Linked DNA regions of Homo sapiens: regions 1, 2, 4 and 5 are each linked to region 3. Evidence: promoter capture Hi-C in 16 types of primary human blood cells and fetal thymus (Javierre and others, 2016). All regions are on one chromosome and are shown on one strand. The core of a region is centred on a gene start or on the middle of the fragment in contact, and the rest is flanking DNA. Distances in the headings are between cores, read along the strand shown.

Region 1 (2,700 bases), core at 53-2,552, 630 kb before region 3:
TACGAGAGTAAAATATTAAGATGTACATATTCTGTTAGGTCATAGAAAGTTTGAATGGTGGGAAAAGTCAGCTGTTAAAATGCTGTGGGATCTCTTTTTGAGCCTTTTCACCTGTGATCAAAGTTGTCCATCACCCTGGCATTTTTGAGAGCTGTAATTTAAGGAAGAAGGTATCATAGGTTACCTCTGTGGAAATTCTAGAATTTGAATATTATGCCCCTGCTCACTTGTAGACTGGGCTGTCACTATAAAGTTAGGCTGACTTGACTGTATCTGATAATTAGGGGCTGGGAGAGCATGGAAAATTGAAGCCATAGATAATCCCAGTGTCTTGTTTTAGCCAATAATAATTCTTCTCCCACCAAGTCTTTATCAGAACTGCTAACAAGGAGAAAAGTCGACTGGTTTGAGTTTCCTCACCTTTTATTCTCCCCTGGGTATCTTCAGTAGAGGTGCTAATGAACAGTGAAATGGCCAAAAGGTGAGCAGCTCCAGGGAGGAGAAGAAGGAGGCTCAGATAATCCACAAACTGTAATCGCTTTGAATAATTGAGTTAACTCCAGTAAAATGTAGAGATACATTCACCTGCTAGGCATTGTTGGAAGCTAAATTAACACACTGGAAGCAAAGCTTTCTTTTAAGTTTCATTTTTAATCTAATGGTGGACATTTTGGGGCACTGCAGCCTATTAAATCTGCTAACTGATGTTCAGACGTTATGAAGGAGTTAAACTATTCTAAGAATATTCAAGGCCTGTTGTTCTCTCCTAGGCTTTCTACGTCAAAGAGTAAAGTCAGAAAAGCCAAACTGATTTCTCCTAAAATGAAGAGAATTGAAGTTACTCTCCCAAACCCCAGTTGTAGGCCAGGCCCTAAACTGAGAGAAATGGACAACCCAAATATTTTGACCTTTGCCCATTGCCAGGTGAGGCCAGATCCGGGGAGGAAGTGATGTTTTCTTATCTGCCTTAACTTAGCCACTACGTGGAGAAGCACTGTAATGTAATTAATGCAGAGGTGCTCAAATTCTGGTGTTCCTCAGAATCACCTCAGGGGCTTTTAGAAACAGTTGCTGGGCCGTTCTCTCAGAGTTTCTGATTTGGTAGGACTGGGGTGGGACAAAGAATTTGCAAATCTGAGAAGTTCCCGGTTCCAGGGACCGCACTTTAATAACCACAGGTGAAACCAATGAGAAGCTGAGCTCCGAAGTCAGACTACCTGGGCTTGAATCTCAGATCTCTCACTTGGTAGTTGTGTGACTGGGTAGTTGATAGTTTACAGAATCTCTTTGTACCCTCGTTTTCTCATTTGTAAAATGGGAATCCTAATATCTCATAGGATTGTGAGTATTAAATGAATTAATATGTGATAAGCCCTTAGAACATTCCCTGCTCTATGGCAAGTGTGCATTGTAGGTTAGTATGACACGGTTATAGGCTCTCTGTAACAATGAATATAGTGACTGATATTTTTTGAGCACTTACTATAGGCCAGAGATTGACTCAGTACTTTGCAAGGATTATCACATTTAATACCCACAACGCACTCTCCCTCCTTTCCCATGTCCTGCTTGCCTTCTTTCTTCCACTTTCAGTTATTCCTTTTTCCCTTCCATTCTTTCTTGCTCTTCAAAAGCCATATTGTGACAAAATTAATCCATTCTAAATGAAAAAGAAAATGTACCTTAGTTATAAAGTATGACCTTTGTGAGTTTTTTCAGGACTGTTCACCTGTTCTTTGCCTTTTATTCCAGCGTGGTACCCGGCACATAGTAGGAGTTTGGTGAACATTAATTACTTGAATCTCGTTATCCTTAAAAATCAAACAGGGTTTATCTATCAGGGTTCCCTTCTCTTCCTTTGTCCTATCCTGGCCTCTCCTTGACCAACACATTGGTAAATTTGGCCTCTGCTCTTTCTTTTCCCCAACTGCAGGGGCCCACATGTCAAGACAAGGTGGCATCACCAACCATTGAGAAAGCTTTTATTTCACTAGCTTCTACCTGGACCACCCATCAAAAATCTTTAAAACGAGTATTCCTTGGGACAAGGCCAGGTGTCATTGAGAGTCCCCAGGAAGAGCATAGGAGTCCTGGTCTGGGAGGGCCGGACCTACACTCTCGGGGGTGCCCAGAGGAAGAACAGGGCCTTTAAAGTCACCCTATGTTCTCTGACCCGTGCAGTGGTGGCATACTCCCTCCCCCACCCCTGACCTGAGGGTGCTGTGTGTCAGCTCTCCTAACTCTTGGTCTCATTAGGGAAGCTGGTTGTCAAGTACTGCCCAGTTACAGTTGGTTTAAACTCTCAACTAAGGGATCGTAAGCAGGTCAGCTGCCTGAGTCTCCAGTTACTCTTGCAGCTCAGGTTTCCCCTTGACAGGTCCTGATAGGGGCTACTTTTGCACCATTGATGTGGCCAGGGCTTACAGCAAGGTTTAAGGTTTCCATGCGCAGCCTTCTTGGCAGGCAGCTCCCAGAGAAAGGAGTATGGTTTGGGAGAAAGCTGCAAGGCCTGTTCGTGGATCCTTAGTATTTTGAGCCGATCACGTGGAGTGGGCCTGTGCCCATCAGTACCAGGAGACTTTATACTTAGGGGAGAATCTGTATGCGGTGTGATTTTCAAGGGTCTATTTCCTCATTGTTTCTCTTTGCTTGCCCTATGGCTGAGTATTAAATGAACATTGAAAGTCTACTATATGCCGG
Region 2 (2,700 bases), core at 29-2,528, 650 kb after region 3:
GCTCTTCTCTGTTGTGTGCACTCCTACACATCCCTGAGGCCCCAGCTCAGGACACTCCACTGAGGTCCCCATCATAGCCCCCTGGCAGAATTGACTGCCTCTGTGCTCCCTGCGTAGCGCATTTATATCTATTCTGCACAGATCTTGTTCTTTTACACAGTAGTCCCCCTTATCTATAGTAGATACCTTCCAAGCCCCCCAGTGGATACCTGAAACGGTGGACAAAACTGAACCCTGTATCTACTACGTTTTTTCCTATACATACATACCTATGATATAGTTTAACTTTATCAATTAGGCACAGTAAGAGATGAACAACAATAATAAAATAACAGCAATTATAACAATATGCCAGCATTGCTAAGCTTGCACTTTGGGGCCATTACTAAGTAAAATAAGGGTTACTTCAATACCGCCACGGTCGATCCGATCACCAAGCTAGCTACTAAGTGACTAAGGGCGGCTACTAGAGATAGGAGGCTGACCTTGGACAAAGGGGCATTCCGGTCCCAGGAATCAAGATTTCATCCTGCTACGCAGAATGGCCGGAAACTTAAAACTTAGGACTTCTGTATTTCTGGAATTTTCCATTTAATAGTTATGGACAAGAGCTGACCACAGGTAACTGAAATCGCGGATAAAGGGGGCTACTATCCGCAGTTCTCTAGTACTTGGGAGTTTCTTGCGACACTCATTTCTGCAACCGAGTGTCTCTCAACAAATCAAACTGTTCGGAATGTTTGGAATATTTTAAACGAAAGAATGCATTCAACAGGCAGTGCCCAACTCCCCAAGTTGGGATTCTCTCCTTGGATCAGTCTCTCCTGTTTACCCCCCTCCTCTCACCACCGGCTGCAGGGGGACCTCTCACTCCTTTCCTTCCCAGTCCAAATGCTGGGCGGTGGAGAGCCGCACTCGCGACAGACACCAGAACGCACCTTCGATAGCACATTCCTGCCCCACCTGCCCCTCAGCACCCGCTGCAGCCCCGACGAGGGTGGGGGTGGGAGGCAGCAATCCTTCAGGTCCTCGGCAGCCCTGCGGGCCTACCTTGTCCCCTTTGCTTAGGACCTGCCAAGGCCACGTCTCTACGCTTCCGAACAGCGAGTTCTTGATCATGCCCAACATGTTGTAGCCGAGACGCTCCCGACGCACGGGAGGACGTGAGGTGGCGGGGGCGACGGAGCACCACGGGCAGCGACCACCGGCGGCAGGGCGGCAGGGCGGCAGGGCGGCAGGGCGGCAGGGTGGCAGGGCGGCAAGGCGGCGGGACGGCGAGGCGGCGAGGCGAGAGGCGGGGCTAGAGGCAGGGGCCAGAGGGCGTGGCTAGAGGGCGGGGCGGCAATTCAGCCCGGCGGTGAGGCAAGGGGGCGGGACGGCGAGGTGAAGGGGCGGAGAGAGAGGGCGGGGCGGCGAGGCGAGGGGGCGGAGAGAGGGCGGGTCAGTGATGCGAAGGGCGGGCAGCAGGGCAGCAGTGCAGCAGTGCAGCAGTGCGGTGAGGCGAGGGTGCGAGGCGGCTAAGCAAGGGATGGGCCCGCCGTGGCGAGCCGCTGGGCCGTGTTCCGCCTCCTTTCGGGCTTTCCGCGGGTGTCTGGGGAGGGAACCCGGCCGCGGGCCTCAGGCCGTCCCCCTCCGCAGACCCCTTCTCTTATTCTGAGTCTAACCTATCCGCTGGGGCCCTGGAAAGCGATTCTCGCCTGGAGTGGCTTTAGGCAGCGGTGGTGGGGAACGTCCTCTCTCAGGTGCCTGGGCTCCAACCTCCGAGCCCCGGGTTGCTCACGCTTCTCCGGTCCTCTACCCGAAGGCTCGATCCCGCTGGTACAGCGGCGGCCAGGCTCCCTGTCTTGGTAGCTGTCCCTCTACCCCCGCCCCATGACCTCTTCTAGACCATTGAAAGAGCATCCAAACCACTTTCCTGCTGCCACTCTTTCCTACCATCCCTCTAAATCACAGTTTCCAGGTGACTTTTCTAAGCATGGCTTTTCTCGTTCACTCCTGTTCAAAAATCTTCTCACCAATTTTGTCACCATTTACTCAGCTGAGTGCCTGCTTTCTGTCAAGTATTTTACCAATAAATCTCTACTCCACACCACCGACAAGAAATATTTTGGAGCCATTTAAAAAGGAGGAAACGGAAGCTTCTGCCGCTGCCTGATCCTCCATTGCTCCGAGCCGCGCGGGTGCAGCGGGCTGTGGAGCCGCGGGCCGAGCCCCGCCGGAGCGCCCGAGAGCCCGCGCGTCCCGGGCGTCCGTCGGGGTCCGAGGTCCCTCCCTCAGGGAGTCCCCGCTCGGCAGCGCTCTCGCGTTTCACGCAGCGGCCGGGGATCTGGGACAGGCGGGGCCCCGAGGCCGAGCCTGGCGCTGCCCAGCGGCCGGTGCAGGCCTCAAGCTGGGCCGGGCGGAGGGGAACCGGCGAGTTGAAGCCCCGGGGCCGAAAGCCGGAGCCTGTGGCGGCCGCGGGGGTGGGGAGGGGGGTGGGGCGGCTTCTTGGGCAGCGCCACACGGCGGCGCAGTGATGGATGTTAACAGCAGCGGCCACCCGGACCTCTACGGGCGCCTCTGCTCTTTCCTCCTGCCGGAGGTGGGGGGCAGGCTGCCCGACCTGAGCCCCGACGGTGGCGCCGAACCGGTCGCGGTCTCCGGGACGCCGCATCTGCTGAGCGGGGGCCCCCGAGGTGACGGCCAGCCCGGCGCCCACCT
Region 3 (2,700 bases), core at 92-2,591:
TATTATCCTCATTTTAGTTAAAACTTACAAAAAGTTGTGGGACATAATATGTGCTTCTTTATTAACCTATTAAGTAACAAGTGGTCATCTAATAACTGCCATAATTTTGACGTGGTATTGAGTATAGATAATATTTTGAAACGTGCAACAAGTCATGTGATATAAAGATATCGGCAATATTTACAGGGGGCAAATCATAGCTACTGCTAATACTACTGTGGCTTTTGCCTACATTCCATTTCAGAAGTCGGTGAAATAATAATTTTTTCCACTCAAGTTCACAGACATCCTGAATTCTATCCATGGATACCTTATCGTGGACTCCCCAGGTTAATAATTCTGGCCAAGGTACTTAATACGCTGCCATATTTTGCAAGCCTCTAGGGAATCAAGAGAAAACCAGGCCAATACTTTATTTTGAATGGATTCTAATGTAGCCTCTTTTCAAGCTTTTGCAAAGAAACCTGAACTATGTAAGGAGATGGGGCAGGAGTTGTTTTCAGTATGCAGCATTGAGAGAAGTGTTTAAGAGTTTTATATCATTAAAGAGGCTCAGCAATATTAGGTTAGCGACGTTTTCTAATCCATTATTATTTAGGCTTTAAGGGCCTGAAGTCGAGTTGAATCTTGTTGAAAGACGGGGTAAAAGGATACAGGCGGGTGAGAGAGGATGCCCCTGAGTTTTAACGTCTGCATACAAGAGTCGCTAAAACTTACTCGCACGTAATTAGTTCAAATATTGGAAATCGTCTTACAGCACACTATAATTTACCAAGATGCTTATAACTGTATACACACACACACTCTACAGAGAATTAGACAATTAGCAGTTTCAATAATGAATACAGAGTCAACGACAAGAAAACAGGGAACATTTTCTCTTCCTTTGAGGAAATGCATGTTGCCTACTGAGCTATTCTTCTGCCTCTCCTTCTGATGTCAACGCAGAGCCAGAGCCATTTATGGCAGGTGCCTTGAGCCCGCCTAGAGGTCCCCTTTGGAATACTGCAGCGACTCAAGGATCCTGGTCAGCCCTTATTGGCCCCAGCTGGTCCTTTGGATGCTCGGGTGTGGGTGAAGGAGCCTCGGCCCCTGGAAAGGAGGGGACCGACTCTCTCCGCAGGTAGCGACGTCGCCTGCGGCCGGTCGGGGGTGGGTATTGGGGAGACCCCTTTACCTGGCGTCGAGAGGACCCCGGCGCCCCTGCTGCCATCCAGGTGCGAGGACAGCTCTGTCGCGCCCGCGGGAAGGACCGGCGAATCCGCGCGGGGGTCTCGGCGAGGACCGCAGCGGATGCTCCGCAGCTCCCGCACCGGCCTGGCGGGTTTTGTGGTTAGCAAGTTCCTGCTTCCGTCGCAGCGACGGCAAGTTTGCCGCGGGGGAAGGGCACGTTCCTGCCCTGCAACCCGGAGCTGCTTCCCGGCAACATTAGCGCGTCCCTCCCCGCGGAGGCTCCGGGCTCCCGGCCCCAGCGCTGAGCCCCGCAGGGAGGTGGCTCCCCCCACCGCCCCGCGCTCCCCCCCAGCTCAGCCACACCGCTGACCCCGGGCTGGGCGCGCTGCGAGGGGGAGTGCGTGCCTCCCTGCTGGTGGCCCGAGGGTCTGCAGGTGAGCCTTGCCTCGCGGCCCGCGCAAGTTAAAATAAATGCACATGGGGAAAATGTCAAACAGTACAAAAATAGACACAGAGACAAGTCTACCCCTCACCCCCGTGCCCCAGTCTCCTAGTCTCCCTCCTCAGAGGCAACCACTGAGAGCAGTTTTTTGATGTTCAAGGGCTTATAGTGCATCCTATTGGGGGCATAGTTCTGAGAATCCTCTTTCCATAATTGGAGGATGGAGTCCTCAATTAAAGATGGCAATTCTTGAGTTAAATATTATCTGCAAGACAAACTTCAGGGAAGGTATTTGGCTTTCTGCGGGATTTATTGTTTGTAGATAGGATAATAATGGTGAAAATGCTGGTGTCTGTAACATATATTAAAACTGTATCCCTAACACTTAGCATAGTGCCTGGTACACAATAGGTGCTCAGTAAATATTTAACTAAAATATTTTTGTTGACTGAATGAATGGAAAAGAACTGCATAGGGCATAGGTTGTGGAAGTTTCTAAATTACTGCTGGCCCCATCCCCACCTCCATAAACACACACACAAATGCAACGTTACTAAACCATTGACACTTAGTTTGCCATATGGTCTAACCTTTGACAGTATCTTCACCTCTGTTTTGAAAGAGCTTGCAGACCTGAAGCGCTATGCAATTGCAAGTTAAGTCTAGGCCTGTACGGCCAACAGCTACACACCCTAGTCTTAACCAATAACTACAGGAGGATTAGGTTGACTGAGAATGCTTGTGAACAAAGGTCCATTGTGTGAAACTAACTCTACTTGTAACCAAAGGATGACTCTTGAATTACAATGTTGCTAAAGCTAGGTTTGAAAGAGTTACCAAAGAAAAGTAAACACCAGAGTAATTTCCCATTGCAGTGATTTTCCTGATGCAACAAGGGACTGATCTGCAAGTGTGTTTTATCTTTTATCATCTGATACACTTCAGGGTTCAGGGTGTAGAGCTATCACAGTTTTTGAATCTCTCTACATGGGGTAATCCATGCTAGTTACAAAGTAGACCTTTCCATTATTAGAAACTTCGTATTCGGTGCTTTAATACAATGAACCTGTTTCTTTTTTTGTTTT
Region 4 (2,700 bases), core at 197-2,696, 580 kb before region 3:
CAACCAACATCTGGAAGCTAGGCAGCCAACAGAGGGGTTAATTTTTCTGGAACCTTGGTTGCAAAAGGTTATTAGTTTGCAGAAAGACTCAGAGATCACTGTTTATCTTAAACCACAAGAGAATGTTTTTGAATTCAGAAGAACAGTGATATAGTTCGGTAATTTCATGAACCTCTTCCCTGGGAAACCTTATGACTCAACAGTCAAAGGTGTCCGAATAGTAAAGATGGTTTTCAGTGATCAGGTCTGTGCCCATGCCTGGCCTTGGATAGACTCTGAAATGAGATTCTTTGTTTGATTGATGGGGTGATGGTTTCTGTTGTGTACATTTGAAGGAAACCAGTTTCCCCACCCAAAATTTCTAAGGAGTTTAATCTTTGGGGTATAGGGGAGTTAAACTACACTGAGTCAAGGAAGTAATTGATTGCATATTTCCTCTAAAAGTCAGCTATGGACTTGATATTGACTAAAACAAACTAGCAGTTCTCTTCCACCACCAAGTCAGAGCGTCTGTTCACCATTCTGCATGATTAAAAGAACAACTAAGAATGGTAATGCTCCATTTAAACTTTCCTTGTGATTCTCTCTGGTCTACCTTCAATCAACAAAAGCCTAAAATTTTTATTTTAGAATCATGATGTTGGAAGATCTTTAGATTGCTCATACCATAAAGCTGTTTCTAAGATTGGTCTCGGGAAGGTCCAAGATCAGGATTGAAGTATGAAAAATCTTGGCCAGGTGCAGTGGCTCATGCCTGTAATCCCAGCACTTTGGGAGGCCGAGGCAGGTGGGTCACAAGGTCAGGAGATCCAGACCATCCTGGCTAACATGGTGAAAGCCCGTCTCTACTAAAAATACAAAAAATTAGCTGGGTGTGGTGGCGGACACCTGTAGTCCCAGCTACTCGGGAGGCTGAGGCAGGAGAATGGCGTGAACCCGGGAGGCAGAGCTTGCCGTGAGCCGAGATTGCACCACTACATTCCAGCTTAGTGACAGAGTGAGACTCCATCTCAAAAAAAAAAAAAAAAAAAATGAAATCTTGATCTTATTGCCTTGTCACCTTTTTGTCTTAAGTTTACTTTGTTGGTATAAAGAATTTTTTTTAATTCAGCAAGAGCTCAAAGAGCCATATATATATATATAAATTTTTTTTTAATTAAAAATCTTTCTGCTCAAGTCTCAACTACAGTGAGACTGAATGGAAAATGCAAAAGCTCTTGACATGATGTCGGAATGAACAAGATGGAGAGGTTGAATTTGAGAACATGGTTTCCTTATTGTGAAATTCCAGTTTCAGAACATTGGCACTGTCTGGTTCAAATATAAATACACATTATTTTATTGTAATCCGCTAGTTTAAATTGTTTATTCTGCTTATAAGGAAGAGATCCATGATAGCTGTGAACCCCTTTGAAGGAGACTTTATCCATGGCTCAGTCCAAGGTGTTTGAAGCACTTTTCTCATGGCCTGGCTGGAAAGACTTTCAGAAATAAGCAGGGTTCTGGTAGGAAAATGAAGGCAGTTGAGGAAAACAGTGCACATATTTGTAAGAGGACTATACTTGGTATCTTGGAAAACATAAACAGACCCTAGACTGTCTACCCCAAGTCTGGGAAGGCGGTCCTCTGAAGCTGAGGTTCTCCTGGAACTCCCTTCCACAGGGCTGCGTTGCAAATGCCATTGTGGAGGCATCACCCGATGTGGTGGACCTGAACATTGGGGAAATGCAGTGCTGCCTGCTGCTGCGCTGGCTGGCATCTGCCCTCCTCCGTCTCCTGGGTGCTGCCACAGAGAAGAGAGAGAGAGTGAAGCGGGCAGAGACTGGCTGTTGCCATCACACAACTGAGGGCGGACCTGGAGCTCAGCCGGCTGAGGGTTTGAGAGACCGTTGGGAGCAAGACCCAACCACAAGGCCCATGGAAGAGGAAGTTGGCAGATCTCAGAAAGGGGAGGAAAAGGAGAGGTGCTTATTTGTTCATCTTGTTTTTGCTTTTAAGGAAAGGAGGAGAGTTAAATGAGAAAGGAGGGCGAGTTGAGAAGGTTCTGAGCAGTTTCAGGTCCACGGTTGAGCAATGTTCTTCCTGGTCAACAAACTGCCTGGATTTCATTTTGGCCTGACAACAGCCCCACCACCTAGGGAACTGCACAGAGATCCTGTGTGTTAACCACGCAAGAGAGTCTGCAGTTAGAATACTGGGGCTTGTGCAGAGAGAAGAATTCAGAAAGTCAAAGGCTGGATGTAGGTGAAGAGACTATGGACTCTGCCTTCATGTCATCAGTTAAAGTGCCCTGCACACCTGCCTGTCCTAGGTCCTGTAGGGATGTGATATAACAAGCATGAGCTATACCTTAGTGTCTGTGTTCCAGAACTTTGTTGGCTCCCGAAGCACCTTTCCCTCCTCCCAAGAGGAATAAACAAATGTAAATAAATGGTGCCCAGGTTTTCATTTGGCTCACAAAAGATTATATAAAACTCATAGTCTGTCTGAAGTATGTTACCTGTAAACCTGTTTCAGCTAACCACCTTTTCTAGCACAATCAAGCTGGTAAAATACATGCCTGCACGCCAGCCACGGTACTGAGGACCACATCAAAACTGCTCCTTGAAGGAACTTGGAGAAAATGAACAACCAGCAACTTGTTAGCTGGTCTCTGAATGACAGAGGGTACTGCTTTAGATGTCCCCCAGGAATTCTGAG
Region 5 (2,700 bases), core at 81-2,580, 600 kb before region 3:
TTGACTTAATTGTATCTGCTTGACAGAAGCAATATACTGCCTTCTGATTTTAGGATGTAACCATCCAGAAAGGCAGAAGAAAGGGACAATTTCAGTTCTAAACAGGAATCCGAATATCTCACGTCCTGAACCATCTACATAAACTAGAGAAAGGGCACTCCTTAAGACTGGTGAAGCGGGCTCCTTGGAAGATCCCCACAGCAACATTGAGTTTGGTTTGTCTGGCGTACCCTCTCCCCAAGGGCTGAGTGGGCCATCTGGGTAACCTAGAGAGGAGACTTCAGATGCTAGGAGTATAGTTCCTACCCATCCTCATTTTCACAGGGTACACTCATTTTTTTCCCCTTGGAAGTACTGATATGTATTCTGCAAGATGAATGTTGAGACCCAAACACCATTTGGCTTGTAAAAATTAATGGCTTAGCATCCAGAGGGATGTTGCTTTCAGGGCAGGGGGGACACTGGACACCAAGAAGAAAGCCAGCTTGGGCCCCTATACCATCTTGGATGTCTAAACCATCTTCTGGTAACTCTCTGGATGAAAAGAAATCATGAACTTCACTTCTGTGATTTGGTGGATGTGGATTTTGCTACATCAAAATTTGCATTTGAGTCTCTGTGGTGTTCTTTCTAGCCGAGATGCTAGGGTATGCTCTTTCTTTCTGGGGAGATTCCAAAAATGTTACTCTCTGTGGCTGTGTGTACAATGTCTATTTAGAAAAGAAGACTGGCATTTGCATCTTCTCTCAAATTCTTTACGTTTGTCTCACTGAATTTTGGAGTGGACAAAATATTCAATAGCTTTTTTCAAGTGAAAAAAATGTCGACTTTCAAGAGTGTATTACTTTAGGTTCTTGTGTATATCTGTGCTTTCCTGGTGGCAGAAACCTAGAAAACTCTAGAGCTCAAATTTCAGCGTATTCAATTTTTTGTTAATGTGTCTATAGCTTGTTAATAAAAGCTTACTTAATGAAAGCCAACATCACCACCACTTGAAATTTTTGCAGCCAGAAGAGTGTACTTAAATACTTGTGTATTCAGACTTCACTTTAATAAATTTCAATAAATAGCTTCCCATAGGAGAGGTTTCTTCTGTTGAATCTGTAGAAGTTGACGACGGTACAAGCATCAGCTTTCTCAGGCAGCTTTTCTAAACACCTGCAGGGTGGAAAAGAGATCCTTCTCTCAAAATACTGAATATTGCTGGCATGACCACTCTTGTCACTGGTGCCTGCTGTTTTCCATCTTATCTGGGTTGCAGGTTTCTTCACAGTGATGGGACACCGAAGTGCAATGGGATGAAAGCATGCCTGTGGCATTTTTACCCTAGCTGTGGGGAAATGACCACTATCCTGTGTCCATGACACTCTTCCTCCTCAGGACTTTCAAACTAGGCTTCAGAAGCCATCACTGGGGGCAGTCCTGGCATTTATAATGGGGATAGGGACAATTTCCAGGAAAAGTTTCTATATCAAGGACATCTCAGTTCTGCAGCAGAGAAATCTTTGAAATTACCTGCAAACCATCTTTTTGCAAGCACAACCAACTTTATTTCTGTTTTAATTAATTCCAAAAATGCTTTATTTCCAGAATGTTAATATTTAGTTAGCAGTAGGCTCTAAGTTTCCCAACCCCTCAGCCTTTTCAGAGGGTATAATAATAAATGTGTAAATGTGCTAGGGGATCCCCGTGATTTATGGAAGCTTTATATTGAATAATTTTGAAGAGGAAAGACCTTTTGGTAATAATATTCATTTTTTGACTCTTCTGTAATATGCAACCTGAGGGTGGGTGTGGGGGAACGTGGAGAAATGCCATTCTCCTACTGAGCACAGACTGTATACACCTATTTTACAGGGAAGTCACGGGCTCCTAAGCATTCAGTTTAAAAATGAGCAGAATTAGATGGGTACCCTTCATTGGCCCTTCATGGCTAGGGGAGAAATGGGAGAGGGAACGCAGCTCATTTTGGCTTCAGTCCTTACGCTTTCAAGAGACAACCCTACTCCATACTTCATTATTTTTTTTAAAGCTTTCTATAATGGTTGGTGAAATTTACATTTCAACTCTTGCCTACAACAGTTTTCTGCCTTATTTTCTCTTCCCAGCGCTTTGTGCCGCCTCCTTGACAACCTGCTCATAGGTATTACAATTGGCCTCAGAAATTGCAGTGCTTCCCTTTTGTTCAGCTGGTTGGCTTGATAGGTTGTATCTGCAAATTTGAGAGCAGCGTGTTTTATTTTTTACAGCATCTAAACAATAATGTAACCACATCACGGCATTCTGAGTCACATCATTGACCTCCACCAGCAGTTTATCCCCCTACAACACTTGAATACATTAATATCACTGTCTGTAGCATTTTAATTTAATTAGAGCAGCGGTTATAATCCTCTTGGGAAAATCGTTATCCCCCCCATACACACACACACACACACACACACACACACACACACACACACACACACACACACACACACACCCCTACTCCCCATAATGTTAAAAGAAAGAAAGCAGCTCTGGTTTTCATCTGTCTGACAATTTGCTTTAGAGGTGGGACTCTCACCACCACCCCCTCCTTTGTTGGGGTCGCACCAGAGAAGCAGTTGTGAGAGTAAAGAGGTTCCCTTTATTTGGGAAATTAGACGTTAGTGTCCTTAAACTTCTCTGTCTAGATGTCTCCATCTGAGATAGTGGTAT

What was found. Contacts are between HindIII fragments. The CHiCAGO score rates a contact against its expected background, and 5 or more counts as called.
Region 1: a contact is called between a fragment that was not itself captured here and the fragment with the promoter of MANSC1 in region 3, in 2 of 17 cell types (M1 macrophages and non-activated CD4 T cells). The highest score is 6.2, in M1 macrophages.
Region 2: a contact is called between the fragment with the promoter of HEBP1 here and the fragment with the promoter of MANSC1 in region 3, in 1 of 17 cell types (naive CD4 T cells). The highest score is 5.4, in naive CD4 T cells.
Region 4: a fragment that was not itself captured here is called in contact with the fragment with the promoter of MANSC1 in region 3 in 1 of 17 cell types (neutrophils); the score reaches 5.7 in neutrophils.
Region 5: a fragment that was not itself captured here is called in contact with the fragment with the promoter of MANSC1 in region 3 in 1 of 17 cell types (naive B cells); the score reaches 6.1 in naive B cells.

Annotation. Positions count from the first base shown.
Region 1 is chr12:11,721,830-11,724,529 of GRCh38, forward strand. All of the region lies in intron 1 of ETV6 (ETS variant transcription factor 6), which reads left to right. LOC124902879 (a long non-coding RNA gene) reads left to right here. Exons shown (of 2, transcript XR_007063212.1): 2 at 1-604. Among named protein-coding and RNA genes, the nearest start is that of ETV6, 74 kb to the left of the region's middle. RefSeq lists an enhancer at 2,426-2,645. The HindIII fragment of the contact is 1,349 bases long and covers 629-1,977 here.
Region 2 is chr12:12,998,987-13,001,686 of GRCh38, forward strand. It overlaps HEBP1 (heme binding protein 1), which reads right to left and starts at 1,279. Exons shown (of 4, transcript NM_015987.5): 1 at 1,051-1,279. The coding sequence starts at 1,128. All of the region lies in intron 2 of GPRC5D-AS1 (GPRC5D and HEBP1 antisense RNA 1), which reads left to right. It also overlaps the pseudogene HTR7P1. RefSeq lists silencers at 1,144-1,293, 1,344-1,463, 2,224-2,373. The HindIII fragment of the contact is 1,773 bases long and covers 364-2,136 here.
Region 3 is chr12:12,348,901-12,351,600 of GRCh38, forward strand. MANSC1 (MANSC domain containing 1) reads right to left here and starts at 1,342. Exons shown (of 4, transcript NM_018050.4): 1 at 1,178-1,342. RefSeq lists a silencer at 1,343-1,652. The HindIII fragment of the contact is 5,175 bases long and covers 448-2,700 here.
Region 4 is chr12:11,772,181-11,774,880 of GRCh38, forward strand. The region is part of intron 2 of ETV6 (ETS variant transcription factor 6); the gene reads left to right. Among named protein-coding and RNA genes, the nearest start is that of ETV6, 120 kb to the left of the region's middle. The HindIII fragment of the contact is 2,933 bases long and covers 1-2,700 here.
Region 5 is chr12:11,746,869-11,749,568 of GRCh38, forward strand. All of the region lies in intron 1 of ETV6 (ETS variant transcription factor 6), which reads left to right. Among named protein-coding and RNA genes, the nearest start is that of ETV6, 99 kb to the left of the region's middle. The HindIII fragment of the contact is 742 bases long and covers 960-1,701 here.